Regions from separate parts of the Homo sapiens genome. Here region 2 is linked to region 1. The links are contacts of gene promoters, found by promoter capture Hi-C in human tissues and cell types (Jung and others, 2019). All regions are on one chromosome and are shown on one strand. Each heading gives the region's core, a stretch centred on a gene start or on the middle of the fragment in contact. The rest is flanking DNA. Distances are from core to core; before and after follow the strand shown. Region 1 holds the start of LOC105371552 (a long non-coding RNA gene). Region 2 holds the start of EVPLL (envoplakin like).

What was found. Contacts are between HindIII fragments. The study calls those that stand out against the background at their distance.
Region 2: a contact is called between the fragment with the promoter of EVPLL here and a fragment that was not itself captured in region 1, in 1 of the 25 tissues and cell types used here (dorsolateral prefrontal cortex).

The regions. Positions count from the first base shown.
Region 1 is chr17:16,816,655-16,823,135 of GRCh38, forward strand. LOC105371552 (a long non-coding RNA gene) reads left to right here and starts at 5,773. Exons shown (of 3, transcript XR_934251.1): 1 at 5,773-5,854. It also overlaps the pseudogene KRT16P6. RefSeq lists a silencer at 1,532-1,732. The HindIII fragment of the contact is 7,379 bases long and covers 345-6,481 here.
Region 2 is chr17:18,375,958-18,382,438 of GRCh38, forward strand. It overlaps EVPLL (envoplakin like), which reads left to right and starts at 1,821. Exons shown (of 11, transcript NM_001145127.2): 1 at 1,821-2,026; 2 at 4,945-5,043; 3 at 5,410-5,564; 4 at 5,646-5,773. The coding sequence starts at 4,981. RefSeq lists an enhancer at 4,122-4,623. The HindIII fragment of the contact is 26,383 bases long and covers 1-6,481 here.

The DNA.
Region 1 (6,481 bases), core at 2,784-5,283:
AGTGAAGGGGGAGGAGAAGTGAGCCAGGAGAAGGAAAAAGGGGAGGGGCATACAGCATGTGCAAATGTCCTGAGGTGGAAACAAGCAAAGTGACTGCCAGGGCAGGAGTCCTGTGTGGCTAAAGGGCAGTGGGTTAAGTCAAGCAAAGGATTTCGGTGGGAGAAAAAAAAATAGTTCTGACCTTGGCCAGGCACAGTGGCTCACACCTGTAATCCCAGCACTTTGGGAGGCCAAGGTGGTCGGATCACCTGAGGTCAGGAGTTCGAGACCAGCCTGGCCAAAATGGTGAAACCCCATCTCTACTAAAAATACAAAAATTAGCTGGGCATGGTGATGGGCATCTGTAATCCCAGTTACTTGGGAAGCTGAGGCAGGAGAATTGCTTGAACCTGGGAGGCTGAGGTTGTAGTGAGCCCAGATTGTGCCATTGCACTCCAGCCTGCGTGACAGAGCGAGACTTGGTCTCAACAACAACAACAAAAAGTTCTGGCCTCATGAGGTTGTTGTGAGGCTTAAAAGAGCTCATATTGTAAAACTGCTGGTGTGGGTCCGGCACGTAGTGGGACATCGTCCTGACTGTCGGTGGCACTGTGGCTGCACCCAACTTCCCCATGGACCATCTGGGCAACTTGGGTTCTCAGCTCCGTTGCTTATTATTTGCCCATCCCTCTGGCCTATTGAGCCCCCATTAAGATCAAAGACCTGTGCCTGTGGGGCCTGGGGAGGACACTGGATGTTTGGAGGATCATAGTTCCTTCCATCAAGGAACCTCCAGTGTTGCAGGCAAGACCCTCGTTGCTTTGCCTGCACTGTCGTTGCTTTGCCTGACAAGACTGTCAGGAGAGCTTGAGTTCCTACCTTCAGTTCATGGACCTCCAGGAGCTCTAGGAGACCCCTGAACCCCATGAAACTATATGAAAATGTATGTGTGCTTATTTGAAGGTAGGGGCAGAAGGAAAGATCTATAGCTTTCAATATTCTCCAAGGAATCCCTGATCACAAAAACATTAGGAATCCTTAACCTAACATAGTGCCTGACATAGCGGCACTCAATATCTGGTGAATGAATGGACACACATGAAAATGAGTGAGGAAATGAATGAATATCTCTCTGTACCCTAGGAGACGCCACATATGACCTGGTACACACATCTATCTTTGTCTTCTGAGATGGCGAAAGATATCCTGGGACCTGAGCCCAACCCACCCACAGGACCTTTTTCCCAGTCCCAGGGGCCATAGCCAGGTGCTATGACAAGCTCCAAAGAGATGCTTCTCCCACTTTCTCCCCATCCCCACTCCTAACAATGACCAGACAGAGGTGAGAATTATGCAACTCAGATAATGAAGCTGTATTGATTGCCAGGAGGGGGTGAGGGTGAAGCAGGGTCCAGGTGTGAAGTGCTTAGGCGGCAGGAGAGGGGATCTTCTAGTGGGATCCGTGTCCACACAGGGGGCCTCCTGGGCCTGAGCGGGGCTGGGCAGCCTCAGTTCTTGGTGCGAAGGACCTGCTCGTGGGTGGACACCACCTTGCCATCGTGCACATCCATGATCTTGGTGTGGATTTGGTGGCTGGAGGAGGTCACTGGGGAAGAGGCGGAAAGAGGACATTACCAGAGGTGGACAGACAATGGACTAATCAGGAGTAAGGAGGCCAAGAAGGTGAGGAAACTCAAACTGTCTCCCAGTTGCCCTCTCCCCTGATTACTGCTTCACTCCCTGCTGTTGCCCAAGCACTGATACCGTCAACACATTTCTTTCAGACTAGGGCTCCCAAAGGTCAGAGACAGAGTCTTTGTCTTCAGATTAGAGCTTCCTAAGAGCTCACACCCAGCTGGTTCCGTCCATATTCACCCAATGGAGTGGTCTCGGTGGGAGGAGCCCTGCAGGGCCCTGTTCATGGTGCTGAGCACCACAGCAATAGGATCTGCCACAGACACCCGGTAGAAGTAAGAGGTGGGGGCTGCCTCTCCTAGCCCTAAGGAGGGTTTAGAAAATAGCTTCTTCCACCCAAGGAGGTTCCCAAGGGAAACTGGGTGACATCACTAGAGCTCAGCCCCTCACGGAGCCCCTAGCCAATGCCTAGACCTGCTTGGGGTACAGAGGGCGGCCTGGAGCCCAGGCCTGCAGAGGATGAAGGTCTTACCGGTCTCTGGATGACTGCGATCCAGAGGAGAACTGGGAGGAGGAGAGGCTGTGAAGACAGAAAAGGGCAGGGTCATTAGATACATGGTGGGGCCGTGAGAGTGCCATGGTGGGGCGGATTAAGGGGAGGGCCAAGACTCATTGGGCATCCTCGCCCTCCAGCAGGCGGCGGTAGGTGGCGATCTCCTGTTCCAGCCGCATCTTCACGTCCAGCAGGATCTTGTACTCCTGGTTCTGCTGCTCCATCTCGCAGCAGAGCTGGGCCAGCTGCTCCTCCACACTGCCAATCATCTCCTGGATTTGGGCCAGCTGCACACAGTAGCGGCCTTTGGTCTCCTCCAGGCTGTTCTCCAGGGATGCTTTCTGTGAGGGAGGGAAAGGGAATCAAGGATTAGTGAGTGTGGCCATTCTCTCCCTGCCAGTTCTGGGTGCACCACCGGGCCTGGCACCATTCCTAACATGCTGAGCTGGGACTGCAGCTCAATCTCCAGGTTCTGCATGGTGTGCCAGAGCTCCGAAATCTCGCTCTTGCCGCTCTGCACCAGCTCGCTGTTGGTGGCCACCTCGTGGTTCAGCTTCTCTGTCTGCAAAAAAGAGAACACCATTCACACCAGAAGTCCCCAGAAGGCAGGTGGTCTGGGTTCCTTCCACCTCAAATGACACCCACCTTAGTGAAGAACCGTTCCTCTGCGTCCTTGTGGTTCTTCTCTGCCATCTTCTCGTACTGGTCACGCATCTCGTTCAGAATGTGGCTCAGGTCCACACCAGGTGCATCGTCCATCTCCACATTGACATCTCCACCCACCTGGCCTCTCAGGGCATTCATCTCCTGCACTGCCAGGGACAGTCCACAGTCAGGAGTTCCACCACGGCAGCAGATTGGGGTTCCTTAGTCAGGCCTGAATACTGCCCTCCCAGAATCACAATTCTATCTTGACTCTCCCTTCCCTCTCTCTCTCTCTTTTTTTTTTTTTTTTTGACAGGGTCTAGCCTTGTTGCCCAGGCTGGACTCAAACTCCTGTGTTCAAGTGATCCTCCCATCTCAGCCTCCCAAGTAGCTGGGACTATGGGCATGCACCACCGTACCCAGTCTCCCTGCGCTTCTTTTAAGCTGGCTTTTCCATATAGTTCTCACCTCCTCATGGTTCTTCTTCAGTTAGGCCAGCTCCTCCTTCAGGCTCTCAATCTGCATCTCCAGGTCAGCTCTGGCCAGGGTCAGTTCGTCCAGCACCCCAGCACCTGGCGCATGCCATTGATGTCGGCCCCCACACTCATGCGCAGGTTCAACTCTGTCTCATACCTGGAATGACCCCAGAGAAAAGGAATGATACACCCATCCTGACCACAGTGAGGGCTTTGTTCTCTTCTCCCTGCAGCTTCTCCCAGAGCTGGTGCCTTGTGGGTGGTTTAAGGAGCCAATCTTGAAAATGGCATGGTTGAACACAGTGCCCATTGATTGCTCAGATATGAACATTCCTGGGGCCTGGGGATGAGGCAGTTCATCTTGCTGCAGAATTCAGGAGGGGGTTGCGCTTCTAGCTTCAGCCAACAAATAATGCATAAGTCCTCCAACTATGATTCCCTCCTATACTTCAAGGGCAGCTGGGGAAGTGGAAAGTGCCTCTCCCTAAAGCAGCAGTTCTGAAACCTGGCTGTGGACCAGAATCTCCCAGCTAACCTGCTATAAATAGCTGAATCAAAACTCCAAGGGTGGGGCCCAAGAGTCTTATTCTTTTATAAGCACCCCAGGGAGTTTTCATGCAGCTATTCTGGCACTGGCTAGTTCTATTTGGGAAACACTGCTCAAAAAATGCCCTACTTTGGGGACACTGGATGTTCTGGCCCACCACTGCAAACTCGCTTGGTGCGGAAGTCATCTGCGGCCAGACGGGCGTTGTCAATCTGCAGAAGGACATTGGCATTGTCCACTGTGGCCGTGAGGATCTGCAGGATGGAAAGGGCACAGGTAATTTGTCAAATGGACTTCACAAGCTGGACTTCACTGTAACCTACATTAAGCTCTTGCTTCATGTTCTTGCCTGAATTCCCCTTTCCCCCCACAAAACTTGACCATAGCAGCCTAAAGGAAAACAGATGCCCCAGGCCTGTCCTAAGACTTTGCTAACTCATGGTCAACAGAGGGGGTAGATGCAGCCCCGGGCTTAGAATCAAAAGCCCAGGAGTTCTGGTCGCAATTCTGCCACTGACTTGCTGCAAAACCTAATGGGTCTTGGGGCTTCAAGTTCCCCACCTCCAAGTGAGGAGAATAATCTGAGGCTCCCTAGCCCTCCTTCCTGAGCTGGCCTCTCTTCTCTCTGCAACAGCCAGCCCTGCCAGTCCTCTGCAGAGATGCACATTCCTTTTCAAGCTCACGGGCCATGGGACTTCAAATGGAACTTTCTCAAGAGATAAAACCCAACTGACACAGGGGATTAGAAAAGAGGACTCGGGGGAAGAATAAGAAGATATATTGGCCCCTGAGTCTGACTGGAGTTCCCCACATCATCATTGAATTTCCCTAATCCATGCAAGGCATTAGAGCCCAGCAGACTCCCGCAGGGAGGGCTCCCAGGTGATGTGGGAGCAGGGGGGAGGGGGCTGGAGACAGGGCACAAGCCTGCCAGGCTCCCTTTGTGCAGGGCACGTCAAGGGGCCACACTGATTGTCTCTGCAGGCTCTCCATGCCTGCCTGGCTGTGGGGAGGGACCAGACTGTACCAAGGCTTATGGGCGGCGGCAGCCACAGCCCAGACTAGTGAGCTAATGAGCGGTTTGGATGTCTTGCCTGGTCCCGTTAGAGCCTCGCTCCTCCCCTGTGCTGGAAGGTAGGACACAAGGGACCCAGCCTTGGCTCTGCCATTAATTTGCTATGTGACCTGCAGCTGGTCACAGCACCTCTCAAAGCTTCAACTGCTTCCTCTGTAAAATGTAAGGACAGGAATCACTGATCTCACTTGATCTGAGGATTTGACATCAGAAGGGGATGAGCAGGCTGGAGAAGGAGAGAGCATCCTCTCACTGATCAGCTCTTAGGGCATCCAAGACCTCGAAAGAAGGGATCTGGGGTGGGCTCTGTCCTATGGAGAAATCTTAAGGTGTCAGTGTCCTGGGGCATCTATTGTTCCCAGAAGGAGCTAGCTGGAATGGCACCTTCTGCTGCCCATTCACCCACCTTGTTCCTCAGATCCTCGATGGTCTTGAAGTAGGGACTGTAGTCTTTGATCTTAGCAGGCCGCTGCCACTGGTACCAGTCATGGATCTTCACCTCCAGGTCAGCGTTGGCCTCCTCCAGGGCACGCACCTTGTCCAGGTAGGAGACCAGGCTGTCGTTGAGGTTCTGCATGGTCACCTTCTCACTGCCCACCAGAAGGCCATCACCACCAGCAAAGCCACCACCCAAGCCACCACCGAAGCCAGCACCAAGGCCACCACCATATCCTCCTCCAAAGCCACTACCGAAGCTGCTGCTGCTGCTGAAGCCACCGCCATAGCCGCCCCCCAGCCTGTAGGCTCCCCCAGAGGAGAAGCAGGAGGAGGAGACAGACAGGCCACCCCTGTAGGTGCTGGGGGCGCGGCACGACCCTCCGGCCAGGACGGAGGAGATGTGGCTGGAGCCGCCCCCGATGCCGCCCCCGATGCCGCAGGAGCCCTTCATGGAGCTGGAGGAGGTGAACTGGCGGCTGCAGGTGCTCATGGTGCCGAGGAGGGAGGTGAGTGAGCGAGCAGTTGGCTGAGTGAAGAGAAGGTGCTCAGGTAAATTGGAAAGGGATGCGAGTGCTTTATACTCATGGGTAGGGGGCGGGCCTGGCACTTTCCATTCCCCTTGGCTTTCATCACCCACAGGCTAGCGCCAACTCCCAGCCAGGTCCCTCCTCTCCTCCACCTCATCATGTCTGTCATATTTTACTGGAAACTCATTGTTTGGGGTGTTTTGGGCTTTCTTGTCCCGCCAGGCGTGATTCACAGGGGGAGGTATGGGCCTGCAGGCTACACTTTCCCATGGGGCCCCGGGAGTCCCAGCCCTCAGGAACCCGCACACTGGGCTCAGCCAGGGTGACAGAGAGCAGGGCCTCTGCACCTTAAACCTGGTGACCTGCTAGCTCTCCATGAACTGGATGGGCCTTTAACATCCACTTAGAGGAAGCCCACCACTGCAGGGGACAGATACCCAGCTGGAGAGCACCGGCATGGCAAGGTCACCTTGGGCACAGAGAGGCCTCCCTCACCATGACCCGCTGTTAGAGACAAGGAGGTCTGGGGGGCCCTCCCAGGCCTGACCTGCCATGCTGTGCTGAGAAGCCTGTCCCATCCCTGAAATACACTCAGCCAGTCAGGTG
Region 2 (6,481 bases), core at 571-3,070, 1.6 Mb after region 1:
GACAGAGCGAGACTCTGTCTCAAAAAAAAAAAAAAAAAAGAAAAGAAAAGGTGAGTCAGGGAGGCCAGGGGTGAGGCTGGCGTTGGCCCCCATAGTCATTCACACAAACGGCTCCTTTCTGAAGACAGTTGATTGCAGGCGTACAATGAGTGGTTAGAAGACAAGTGTCACCAGGAATAAAGTGGGAGCAGGCTGGGGCAGAGGCTGAGTGGCCAGTCATCTCTATTGGCATCTCACTCAAGACATGGGCCGGGAGCTGAGGACACTGGAGACCACTTTGTTTCCTCATTGCTGTCAGGGGCCTCTGCTGCCCTCCCCACCCCCACTGCCCCTGTCAGCTCCTCCACCTCTAGGAATGGGGGTTTACTGCATCCCCTCTCCATGGCCGAGTTCAGGAGCTTCCCATGAGATTCACCCAAAAAGGGCACAGGCCTTTTCTATCCCATGGGGGCCTGAGGCCAGTATCAGGTGTCGGTCCCTGGTCTCCCCCATCTGCTGGGACCTTTCTCTCCTGCCAGGCTGTTTTGTCCTCAGCGAGGCCTGCCAGGATGACCAGGTGATGTCACCCAGTCCGCCTGTTCCATCCCCTGGCTCCCCCTCAAGCCCTCCTTCCACTAAAACCACGGGGATTTCAGGAATGACCTGGAAAGCGACGCCACCTCTGCAGAAGGGGCCTGTTACGCTGGGCCAGTAAAATGAGCGCCTGGAAAGGGGGGTCCCATCGCCCCTTTCTTGAAGACGCTGAGGGTCACCACAGAAGGAAAAGGCAGCAGCCCTGGTCCCCAGTGTGAGGAAAAGACCAATAAGCTGGCATCACTCTCTGCCACTCAATCTGACTTCATAAAAGCCACCAGGGGCCATTTCTGGGTGGGGGAAGAGGCAGGTAGGAAAAGCCAAGTGCATCGGGCTCCCGGGCCTCAGCCAGAGCCCAGGCTTAGTGGCACCTGAAGCCAGCCCTGGTGCTGCTGCACTGTGCACACTTTATAAAATGGGGCCGGGCATGGTGGCTCATGCCTGTAATCCCAGCACTTTGGGAGGCCAAGGCGGGTGGATCACTTGAGGTCAGGAGTTCCAGACCAGCCTGGCCAACATGGTGAATCCCCTTCTCTGCTAAAAATACAAAAATTTTCTGGGCGTGGTGACGGACACCTGTAATCCCAGCTACTTGGGAGGCTGAGGCAGGAGAATCGCTTGAACCCGGCAGGCAGAGGTTGCAGTGAGCCGAGATCGTGCCTTTGCACTCCAGCCTGGGTGACAGAGCAAGACTTTGTCTCTTAAAAAAAAAAAAAATGGACCTTGTGCCAGTTGTCTGGAGTGAACGTCCCCTGGCTGCCCCATCATGTCAGTGGAGAACACAGAGCCAGGCCCTGGGCTGGCAGGACACCCCCTCCTCTCCTGGGGGATTGAGAGCTGTGGGTGGGGGCCAGCCTGGCAGCAGGGCCTCTGAGCTGGCTGGAGATGTTTATTAATCCTGAGCTCCAGAGCTGGGGCCTCTCCGCTGAGCCTGCGCCTGCATGTGCACGTCTGTCTCCAGACCCATCTGTCCTGGCCCAGCTCCTTCCCTATCTGGGTGTAATCGCCACCGCGCTCCCCTGGGCATGTGGGTGTAACAAGTCCAAACCTTCTGTGGGAGTCGGGCAGGCTCGGCCCCACCCTCAAGGCTGTGCCCTTTCCTCCCAGACTGGTTATGCAAGAGCAGGCATGAGTGTGGTTTTTGTGGGTGCATGCGCGGCAGGCCTGGGGCCTGGCCGCCTGCTGCCTCACCTGCAAGGAGGGGCCTCCCAGAAACTCCCTTCCCCAATGCCCAGCCGCCCCACCTTGCCAGACTTAGCTGACCAGCCAGCAAGGACGCCCGCTGCCTCCCACCTGCCCTCCTGCCCTCCTTCACCAGCCAAGCCCAGCCTGAGCCAGCACCTGCCTTTATGACCATGTTCAAGGGACTGAGCAAAGGCTCCCAGGGGAAGGGGTCCCCCAAGGACTCCCCAGCCAAGGGGTCCCCCAAAGGCTCCCCCAGCAAGCACAGCTGGTGAGTGGGACTAGGGGATGGGGAGCCAGGGAGCTAGGGTGGGGGTGGTGCCAGGCCCAGGTCCTTGAGCCACCTGGCGGCGGCCCAGAGCCCAGGACCAGCCCCGTGCTGGCATTTGGTGTCCCGAGGACAAAGGGCCCAGGGGTGGACTCTCTCCCTGCCTTGGGAGCCGCAGGCCCAGGCCGAACTTCAGCCCTGGCAGGAGGCAGGGGATGGCCTGGGGCTCCCTACATCCTCTAAGGGGGCCTGTGGGCCACAGATTGATGCTGCTCAGCGGGAGAAGTGCCGGACAGGAGCCTGCACTGATGCCCTCCTCTGCCAGAGGCTGGGACACAGGAGAGCCTGGTTGTGTGACTGCAGCTCTGCCCCAAGGCTCTACTTGGCTGGGATGACCCCTGGAGCCTGGGTGCAGGGCATGAGGACTGAGGGGGTGGGGTGGGATCCCTGGGGTAGGGATGCAGGGGCTGTGCTGCCTCCTGCCTAAGCCAGAGCCCTCCCCAGAGCTCTCACCCAGGGCCTTGTTGTATTGAAGAGTTAGGGGTTCATGGCTGGGCGCGGTAGCTCACGCCTATAATCCCTGACTTTAGGAGGCCAATGCGGGAGGATTCCTTGAGCCCAGGAGTTTGAGACCAGCCTGGGCAACATAGGGAGATCTTGTTTCTATAAAAAAAATAAAAATAAAAAACAGCCAGGTATGGTGGCTCATGCCTATTGCTTGAGCCCAGGAGTTTGAGGCTTCAGTGAGCCATGATCACACCACTGCGCTCCTGCCTGGGTGACAGACTGTGACTCTGTCTTTAAAAAAAAAAAAAATCCTGGTGCAATACCTCATGCCTGCAATCCTACCACTTTGGGAGGCTGAGGCGGGTGGATGACTTGAGCCCAGGAGTTGGAGACCAGCCTGGGCAACATGACGAAATCCCATCTCTATAAAAAATATACAAAAATTATCTGGATGTAGTGGTGCATGCCTGTAGTCAGAGCTACTTGGGAGGCTGAGGTGAGAGGATCACTTGAGCCCGGGAAGTCGAGGCTGCAGTGAGCCGTGATCACTCAACTGCACTCTAGCCTGGGTGACAGAGCAAGACCCTGTCTGTTAAAACAAAACAGAATAGAGCTGGGGCTTCCTTTTCCAGTGGGTGTGGTGCAGGGGGCACTGGGCCTCCCTTGGACCACCCGGTTCTCTGGGGCCCAGCCTCAGCTCTCTGTGGATGGATTGGGTGGCGCTCTTCCCACTCACTGGCTTCAGCTCATCTGCAGAGGAGGCAGCAGCCCGCCTGGGTCCAGGGTGTCGAGATAAGCTCAGGGATGAAAAGCTGGTGTGGGAGTGGGGGTGCCCATTACCCCGATAGGGATCAAGGCACCAACAGACACCGAGTCTGGGCGTCTGGGCCGACGGGAAAGACAGTGGTTAAGACTCTCAGCTAACACTCTCACTGAGTGACCTGTCCTCCCTGGGGCACCTGAGCCCCACCCAGGGTGGAGTGTGCAGCTCCTGGTGGGAGCAGCCATCCCAGGAGGCGGGACCTGAGCAGGAGTGCCCAGGGCCCAGCACCTGCAGCTCCCACTGTCCAGGCAGGCTCCCCAGCAGTGTGCTCCTGGCCTGGGGCAGCTCAGTCCTCAGGGCCCTGTTGGCTCTGGATCACCTCACGTGCGATCCACTCGTTTGACATGAACTTACTGAGCACTTACTGCATGCCAGGACTGTTCTAGGCACTGGAGATGTCGCTGTAGACAGAACCAACAGGCCCCTGCCTTCAAGGCACTAGCCCTCTAGTGGGATAAAAACTAACACGTGCTGGGTGCCGACTCTGCACCAGGCCTGCACTGGATGTTTCAGACAGATAAATTCAATTAATGCTCACAATAGCCCTAAGGCATAGATATTTTTATTAAAATCCTGCTTTACGAGTGAGGAACCTCAGGCACAGAGAGGTTGAGTAACTTGCCCAAGGTCACACAGCATTAATGATGGAGAAAGATGAAACCAGGCTGTCTTGGCCACAGAGTTCTTCCAGACTGCTGTGCCTTCACCAGCACTGTCCCGTTGCCTGGGGGGGCCCATCCTTTGACCCAGTTCAAGGCTTCCCCTGCCCCAGGATAATGATCCCCCATAAGGCACTGTGCTCATAAGGCTTGGACCAATCTGCCCTCTTTTAGGTCTGCTTGGCCTTGTGACCTCCACAGAGTGACTGCATGCACACAGCAGGTGCTCTATGGAGGCTGCAGGGCGAATGCACAGAAAAAGCCCTGGGGTGGAAGCAAGGTTTCCCCTCCGTCCCTGACCACGTAACTCAGAGCAAGTTAGGGCACAATCTGGGCTTTGAACCCTCAACTCTGGAGAATGTTAGGGTGCCCAGCAGTCTCTTGCGCCTGCCCCCGCTCCCCGACTCTGACAGTGTGAGGCTCCTCTAGACGGCTGCTGAAGCCAGCACTCTGGCAAAGCTCCCTGGGGTGGAGGAGGTATAGGGGAACACAGGGCTGGAGTGGGAGGAGGTGGGGGTGGGGGGCATGCTGCTGCCTCCCTGCCCCAGCCAGCCCAACTGCCCCTCCCAGGGCCCAGCCAGGCTGGCTCAGGTACTACCGGCTCACAGGGGGGAAGTGGCAGGCAGCTGGGTGGGGTCGGGAACTCACTGCCAGCACAGCTGGCTGAGGCTGGGACACCGAGGCCGCCTGACACCCAGCACCACACAGACCTGAGACCCTCACCTTTTGACCCCTCATGTGGCGGGGCAGTGCTAACACCCCCAACCAGGTCTAGCTCACAGAGCCTCCTGCAGAGAGAGACCCCAAAGTCAGGGCAGTGTGCTAGGCTGTGGGGGCGGGATGGGGTGGAGAGAGGGCAGGGGACGCCACCTGGATGGGGCACAGAGGGGCCTCTTCCACCGAGCTGCCCACTGTCCCCTCCACCCACCAAGAATGCCACCCAGGAGCTGACCCTGCTCATCTCCCACATGCAAGCCAGCGCCGACCAGGTGGAGCGGGACATCCTGGAGACGCAGAAGAGGCTGCAGCAGGTGAGAACCCGGCAGCAGTTGGCAGGGTGTGGGCAGGCTGGGTGGCATGGGAGGCCCATCATCAGGCCTGGCACTCCCTGAGTGCCCCCTGGTGATGGTGAAGATGGGACAGATGACATTTGTCCTGCACCGCCTGTCCCCTAACACACGGTGGGAGAGAGGGCTCAACTTCCTTCTTTGCTGGGCTCCCCTGTGTCTTTGTCACCTGCCTCATGGACGCCCTGGGCCTGACCCTGTGCCTGGCGTGGGCCTCGAGGTTGGCCAGCATAGCTGGGGTCCCAAAGGTGGGGCTCAGGCCCACAATGATGGGCAGCAGGGGTGTGGGGGCTCTGGACCCTGGCAAGTCTGCCCATCCCCTGCCCACAGGACCGGCTGAACAGTGAGCAGAGCCAGGCCCTGCAGCACCAGCAGGAGACGGGCAGCAGCCTGAAGGAGGCCGAGGTGCTGCTCAAGGACCTCTTCCTGGACGTGGACAAGGCCCGGCGGCTCAAGCACCCGCAGGCTGAGGAGACTGAGAAGGAGTGAGTGGGGCTGCGGCAGGGCTGGGGGTCCCTGGGGAAGACCCAGGCCCAGCCCTGACCTGCTGGCCACCTTCTTGACAGCATCGAGCAGCTGCACGAGCGGGTGACCCAGGAGTGTGCGGAGTACTGTGCCCTGTACGAGAAGATGGTGCTGCCGCCCCGACGTGGGATCCAAGGTCGACTGGGCACACGTGCTGGAGCAGAAACAGGTCAGGAGCTCAAAGTCACACCCCAGTGTGATCAGAGGGTGATACGGAACTGCATTTAACCCAGGGCCTGACTGTAGGCTTGAACAGTCAGTGTATAGTGGTGTCTCAGGGGTCTGGGCAGGGAGACAGCAGAGGAGACAGTGCAGTCAGGGAAGACTTCCTGTAGGAGGAGGCACATGAAGAGACCTCAGAGGGGTGAGAGGGCTCGGTTGGGTCAGGGTGAAGTAGTGAGGAGAGGACAATTCCAGAAAGAAGGAGCAAAGGCACCTGCCAGGAGGAAGCCTAGGATTCGATGGGAAGTGGGGATTTCTGGCCAGGTGGGCAGAGCCAGGACATGGGGCATTCTGATCCCTGGTTGAGGAGTTGTGCTTTGATGCCACACAGAAGGGGTGTCATCATGACAATAGAGGAACAGTGGGGAAGGGCCCGGGTGCAGCAGGGCGTTCTGAGGGCCCTAGAGCTTGGCTGGAGGTGTCCAGGCAGGAAGCACTGAGGCTGGGTCACAGACAAGGCAGGATGGAGCTGGAGACTTCTGAGGCTGAGCCCAGCGTCTGGGAACCAGTGGGACTCAGGGGCCACTGCAGAATGGCCTCTGCAGTGGCCACCCTGCAGAGCAGAATGGCTCACCCTGGGTGAGCTGCAGGGCGTGCACCCGGGCTGCTCTCAGGCTCGTCCACGCTCTGCCCAAATGACCAAGTCCACTTCTCC